Regions from separate parts of the Homo sapiens genome. Here region 2 is linked to region 1. Evidence: promoter capture Hi-C in human tissues and cell types (Jung and others, 2019). All regions are on one chromosome and are shown on one strand. The core of a region is centred on a gene start or on the middle of the fragment in contact, and the rest is flanking DNA. Distances in the headings are between cores, read along the strand shown.

Region 1 (3,573 bases), core at 736-3,235:
TTTTTCAAAATATTTTGAAATATTCTCTGCTGTTCAGTTATAATGATAGCTGGAGGCATTATACAACTTTATTTTGTAACATATTTTTTTCCAGTACAGATGTGAAAAGCTTCACATCTATTATTTAGTACTGCAATGTCAAATAAAGTTAGAGAGAAGTTTCAGAAAAAAAGATAAATTCGTAAAAGGCCATAGTCTCTGTGAGGAAAAGTGACATAGGACATTTCTCCATTGGCAGCAGTTAGGAAATGTAGGAAGAGCGTCAGAGTTTCTGAGTCAGCTTTCAGATGCATGTCCTCACTTTCTCTTCATTATACCCAAATGAAGATCTTGTTTGAACTTTTTTTAAATTATACTTTAAGTTTTAGGGTACATGTGCACAACGTGCAGGTTTGTTACATATGTATTCATGTGCCATGTGGGTGTGCTGCACCCATTAACTCATCATTTAACATTAGGTATATCTCCTAATGCTATCCCTCCCCCCTCCCCCCACCCCACAACATTGCGGCACTATTCACAATAGCAAAGACTTGGAACCAACCCAAATGTCCAACAATGATAGACTGGATTAAGAAAATGTGGCACATATACACCATGGAATACTATGCAGCCATAAAAAATGATGAGTTCATGTCCTTTTTAGGGACATGGATGAAGCTGGAAACCATCATTCTCAGCAAACTATCGCAAGGACACAAAACCAAACACGGCATGTTCTCACTCTTAGGTGGGAATTGAACAATGAGAACACATGGACACAGGAAGGGGAACATCACACACCGGGATCTTGTTTGAAATTTACAGATAGAGAAGCGAAGGCCTTGGAGATACAACGTTCTTCGGAAAGTGGTCAGAGCCTCCTAACATTGCTTCGGGGCTGCGCCCCTCCCCGCTCCCTCCTGTTTTGGCTTCTTGCCAGCCTGGATGTTCCTGGTCCCTGCAATGCTTGCACTTTCCTGAGTCAATACTGTGGAATCTGTTGACCCTTCTTCTTGGAAACTGTTTTCTTCCATTTTTTTTTTTAAGAAAACTGTAAAGTTAATGCATACTCTTGGGAAAAAAGAATTCTAACAGAATTAAAGATTATAATTGAAACATACTTTATACACAGTTTTATATACCATTTTTTCTTAATACTATGAACAAGTTTTCTGTGTCCTTAGAATGGTTGTAAATACCATAGTGGTTACAAGGGGCGTAGCCACATTCTAAGAGTGCATCGCCATTGACTTAATGCTCCACTGTATCCTCTAATTAGGCCACAGCCTTGGCTGACCCATGCTCCTGCCTAAACGTGACCAGTCTGCACCTCAGAAGGCCAGGCTCTCCCCTTGGCTGCCACCTACAGCCAATCTAACCAGCTGTGCACCCGAGTCTCTGTTTTTTTTTTTTTTTTTTTTTTTTTTTTTAATGTTTTCCCCATTACTTCAAGGTTTGGATAAAATAATGTACTATGGTTTGCAGCCTGGCTTCCCAAATAATGAGGCTGGAAGTCACAATCTGAAACTGAGTGAATTAACCCCCTGTTCAGGGAATTGAGTAATAAGGAAAAAAGACCTTGAAAGAGCTAGGAAGATTCATTTCCTCTTCTCCCTTTTTCTGATGAACAAACTGTTTCAGGAAAGAGATCTTGCTTACCTCTGCAGTCTCTCTGAGATGTCCCTCATGGCCACATGAGTGCACCCAGCAAAGGACCCAACTTGGGAAGCTGTGGCCAGGATGGTATATGTCACTTTGCATTGCTTCTCATCCTTCCCTCCGTAGCTGTTTTCCTCACCTTCTTGCCATGAGTTTGCACGTCCTTAAACAAAATAGGAGCCTTTTTAGTCATTGCCTCAGACCAGGCTTTTTAGGGAACCTGAGCTCAGGCAGAGACCTAGATGCAGAGGGAGGTAGAATGTTCCAGGAAGGAGATGCAGAATGTACAAAAGCTTTGTGGGGTGAGGGAGCATGATAGGGTAAAAGCAAAGGAAGGTTGAAATGAAAAAAAAAAAAAAGTAAATGGCAAATGTGAAATGTGATGGAGAAAGGAAGAGGAGGGGCATGTGATGTAAACTAGCTGGGGACAAAACCACAGAAGGTGGTATAGACCCCGGAAGCAGTCTGGTCTTGATTCTAAGAGTAACAGCAATCTACTGTAGGGCTTTAGGGAGGATGGCAGTGGGATGGAGATGGGGTAGCATATTAGTCCATTTTCACACTGCTGTAAAGAACTGCCTGAGACTGGGTCATTTATACAGAAAAGAGATTTAGGTGACTCACAGTTCCGCATGGCTGGTGAGGCCTCAGGAAACTTACAATCATGTCAGAAGGGGAAGGAGGGATGTCTTACGTGGTGGCAGGCGAGAGAGAGCCTATGAAGGAGGAACAGTCAAACACTTATAAACCATCAGATCTCATGAGAACTCACTCACTGTCATGAGAACAGCATGGGGGAAACTGTTTACATGATCCAGTCACCTCCTTCCCTTGAGATTTGGGGATTACAGGTCCCTTCCTCAACACATGGGGGTTACAATTCGAGATGGGATTTGGGTGGGGACACAGAGCCAAACCATGGGGGTTACAATTCGAGATGGGATTTGGGTAGTGACACTGGATTTGAATTTTGAAAGGGACACTCTGGTTATGCAGGGCAGAATAGATCGTCTGAAGGAGGTTTGCAGTGTGGATATTGCTTGATCAGTTAGCAAGTGATGGCATATTACTGGAGAAAGATGACATTAGCTTGGACTACTGTGGGAATAATGGAAATGGAGAAAAATGAGAGATATTTGGGAAGTAAAATGGATAAGATCGATAAAGGTTGGATATGTAACCTGGGGCAGTGGAGGAGTCTTAGATAATTCCTAGGTCTCTATATTGAGCTATTTATTGGATGCTGGTGGCATTCACAGAGGTCAAACATTTGTGGCTGAGGTCAAACATTTGTGATGTACCCGGTATAACTGCTCCCTGAAGTTCCCTGAAGCTGAGAGAGTGAACAGATGGTAAGGAGAGGCAAGCTGGCCTTGCCTTCCTGGATTTTATGTTTTCAAATGACTGAGAGTACTGTATGGATTGGACATGTGACTAAAAGAATTCCCTGCCCTTCCCCACCTTGCAACCCCCTTCCCCAGATCTGAAGTTGAATTATACACTAATGAGCACATGTCTGGCCCAAATTAGGTCTAGAATGCATGTGTCTAATGTGGGCCTTCTAATATTCAGTCTTCCCTGTATATTAGTGAGCTATTTCATTTTTCAAATAATTGGAGTCATGTTGTAGTTCTTCCAGGGAAATTCCAATCACCAGGGCTAGTGTCTCTGCCCTTGATCACACTGATTTATAGAAGTCATCTTCTTCATTTGTAAAGTATTTGTTGTGTTTATTATGAGTGAGACACTAAGTAGGGCACAATATGAATATGACATGGGTCTTGCTCACTAATTTTCAGCAAGATAAGAGATTATATTGTCCTTCATCACATTGATTTATGGAAGAGTCCATATGCAGGACTCAATCTCCTATCCTTTCTGCATTGCTGTCTTTGAGAGCTTGCAGTCATAGAACAGATTTTGAAAAATGAG
Region 2 (3,813 bases), core at 969-3,468, 1.9 Mb after region 1:
CCCACTAATGTTTTCAAATTCTCAAAAGCATAATGAAAGTATCAATCATAAATATATACATATATAACTCGCCATAATTAAAATGATTTATTTGCTTGATTTAATGCTTTTAGATAAGCTTTTAATATTACTAAATCAAAGTAAGAGGTCTAGCAATTTCCAATTTCAAAAACAGAATGTATTATTGAGCTGGAAGAATTTAGGCATATTCTAAGAACTAGTAATACCACGCCTGTAATCCCAGCACTTTGGGAGGCCGAGGTGGGTGGATCACAAGGTCAGGGGTTGGAGACCAGCCTGGTCAACATGGTGAAACCCCCATCTCTACTAAAAATACAAAAATTAGTTGGGTGTGGCTGTTGGCACCTGTAATCCCAGCTACTTGGGAGGCTGAGGCAGGAGAATTGCTTGAACCTGGGAGGCAGAGGTTACAGTCAGCCAAGATCATGCCACTACACTCCAGCCTGGGTGACAGAGCGAGACTCCGTCTCGCAAAAAACAAAAAACAAAAAACAAAAACAAAATAAAACAAAAAACTAGTCATAAAAAAATAAGTCTACTCAATTTTTTTCAAGGCCTTCCCAGAACCACTAAATTGATTGACATGAAGATTTTTGGTCATATTATGTTTGTCTCCAAGGCTTAGTCATTTAGTCTCTGAGTCTTAATGCAAAGTTGGTCTTGCATTAAGGAAATGGAGAATTTAGGGGACAATAAAAATAAAGTATTTTGAAATTTAAATAGATCAATAATTAACACTTCTGAAAAGAAATATGAAAACTGGAGTTTTATTCTCCTTTTTCAAAAGAAGATATGATTATAGCAGTGCAACTACTTTTTTCCAAATTATAGCATAATATATATATATATACAAGAAAAAATAGTAGGAAAAAATGGCATGGGTGACATTATAATTAATGATATTTCTGATTTTTATATGAAAAATGACTAGAAATGTTCTTAAAAGCTAACAGGAAACTCAACTCTAAATATTATACTTTATAAAAATGCTTAAAAATTCAGTTGAACAGAGGTGTCAACTCTTTTTATTATAAAATACTAACTCATGCCAAAAATATATTAAGGAAAACTATTCAGCTATTGACTTATTCCATTGCAAACACATACATAACTACTACCCAGAGCAAGGACTAGAATATTGACAGAAAGCCAGCATACCCTCAGAGGTTTGTTTCTATCATAACCCTCCCTTTAACCTCTAAAAAATGACTACTTATCTGAATATTATGGCATCAATTCATTGTTTGCCTTTTCACCACCCAAGTTTACATTCCTACATATTATAGTATAACTGTGGTTAATTTCATAGAATTGGAATCACACACATATATATATATACATTTTGCCTTTCATCATTTGTTCACATTAAACATGATGCTTTTGAATTCATTTGTATTATGTTGTATAATTATATGTCATGCATTTCAAAGTATTTTATTGTGTAAATATACCACATTCTATTTATTCATGCTTCTGCTGATCAACATTTAGATTATTTTGAAATTATGTCAATTATGAATAATGACCCTATGAACATTCACATTATATCTCTCCTGGAACACATACACCTATATTTTTGTTGAGTATTGACAGACTCTCTTCTTAACCAAACTTCAGTCAGGCTCCTTTGAGCCCTCTTCTCAATAAGGCTTCCACCTTGGCCCCATCCTGCCCTCAGCCTCCTTAGTACAGTATTAGCCAGTATTCCGCTAAGCCAGTTTGAGAACCCTCCCACCCTTGATATCTGACCACGTTTTATGTTTAAGTCCTTGGCTTGCCTTTTGCAAGAAACCTCTTAGGTCAGTTTATCAAGAATCCCCCTACCCTTAGTAATTTTCTATCCACTGACTGCCTCACTCTGCTCTTTGATATAAATCCTCAGATATCTCTCCTCTATCAGGAGCCCAATCTCTTTTCCCTTCACAGCAGTCTTGAATAATGTCTTCCTAACTTTTTTAACGTGTGTCAGAATATTTTTAATTGTATACCTTGAGGAATAAATTGCTTAGTCATATGACATATGCATCTTAAAATTAATCAAGAGTTCCTATCTTCTGCAATGATTATAACAATTTATATATCTACTATCAATATATGAGAATTTTATGATTTCTCCTTGTGTGCCATCCCCTGGTTCTTTAAATTCTAGCCATTCTTATGGATGTTATAATAAATTTTATTACTGTTTAATTTGTATTTCCTTGGTTACTGATAAGGTGAAGCACATTTCTTTATGTATACTGACCATTTAAATCATTAGAATATCCCACTTTGTGTCTTGTATATGTTAACTTACACCTGTTTGGAGCTTTAGCTTATGTTCTCATGAGTTTTCTCTCTTTCTTGTTTACACGAAGTTATCTGTATATTCTCAAAATAAGTCTTTGTGATTACATGTGTTGCGAATAACATCTTTTCCCCTCTTTAATGTCGAATTTTGGTTTACATTTAGAGATGTTACATTTAATGCCATTTTGTTTGTAAATTTTTTCTCTATGATGAGTGTGTTTTGTATGCTGCTTAAATATTTTTCTAGACTGAGGTCATATTCTATTAGTTAAATTAAATTCATTTATTTGCCTGTTTAATCGATTAGTTCGTATATGTTTGTGAGTGTGTTTTGCATGTCTATGTTCAATCTCTGTGGGTTTCAGACTTCTTCTGTCCAATATGCAATAACATTCAAAGTTTTGGGGTTTTGTTTGTGAGGAGCTTCTCGTCTTCACACCATTTATGAAAGGACTGCCTTTCCTCCACTGCTTCGATGTGACATTTCTGTTGTAAATCAAGTGTCCAAATCTCCACAGGGCTATTTGAAGCACTCTATTTTTTCCCTGTTCTGTCATCTACCCTTGCATCAGAACCATATGCTTTGAAACTTGGCTTTATATATGGCAGTGCAAGTCCTCCCACATTTTTCTCTAAGAGTGCTTTGGCTATTTTTGGGTCTTTGCATTTCCATGTCAATTTTAGATATATCTTGCCAAGTTTCATATAAAATATTGTGAATGAATGATTTAATTTGCAGGCAGAAGCCTTTTAGTGTCTCCTAACTGACATGATCTGAGTGTGGTGGAGCATCCGGGAACAGTATGGAGTTTGTAGGAAGATAACATCTTTTAAGGTAATTGGCTTCTATCACTCAAGCTGCCCCATACTCTAAGGCTTGTTCTTTCAGATGTCAGCAGACAGGCACACTTGCCATAAAACTTCCTGGTTCTGGGAAGCAGAAACATACTGTTTCTGATATGAGGCGAGAGATGTGAAGGAGCTTTTTCCTGGGGTCTGAGGACAAGATTAATAGGAGAGAATGCATGAGTTGTGCTGTGCCTCCTGCACTCTCTGGGAACCAAACCTTGAGTAAAACAGGTGCTCACACATCCTTTAATAATTGCATATAATATGTGCATGAGATATCCAGGACTGTTTAAGAGCAGGGGCCCACATACCCAAGTCTAAAGCCAATATACTTAAACAGATTGGAAAAGCAGTTTCCCTGGGATTTGTGGATCATGCTCAGATTAAACCCCAGTGGAAACATGAGACCTAGAGTTAGACAGCAAACAGTCCTTAAGGAAATACCATGATCTTACTTGGAATTACAATGCTTAATTTAGACCTACATCTTATGTTGCATGCTATGTCTAAATATTTAAATGTTTCCCATCAAAACGCTGGTATCTCAGCCTGCCTTCCCAGGCAGGGTCTTCTTGCACCCTCTGCTGAGGTTCACTCTGTGAGATGGACTAGCTTTCTCCCTTCCAACATGAGTGGGAGTGAGAATTTGCAGAA

The links. The method cuts DNA at HindIII sites, captures the fragments that hold promoters and counts their contacts. A contact is called where the count stands out against the background at its distance.
Region 2: a contact is called between a fragment that was not itself captured here and the fragment with the promoter of GTSCR1 in region 1, in 1 of the 25 tissues and cell types used here (dorsolateral prefrontal cortex).

What each region holds. Positions count from the first base shown.
Region 1 is chr18:70,648,969-70,652,541 of GRCh38, forward strand. It overlaps GTSCR1 (Gilles de la Tourette syndrome chromosome region, candidate 1), which reads right to left and starts at 1,986. Exons shown (of 3, transcript NR_160904.1): 1 at 1,642-1,986. The HindIII fragment of the contact is 9,016 bases long and covers 1-3,573 here.
Region 2 is chr18:72,579,241-72,583,053 of GRCh38, forward strand. It overlaps a transcript of CBLN2 not described here. Among named protein-coding and RNA genes, the nearest start is that of CBLN2, 37 kb to the left of the region's middle. The HindIII fragment of the contact is 5,810 bases long and covers 1-3,813 here.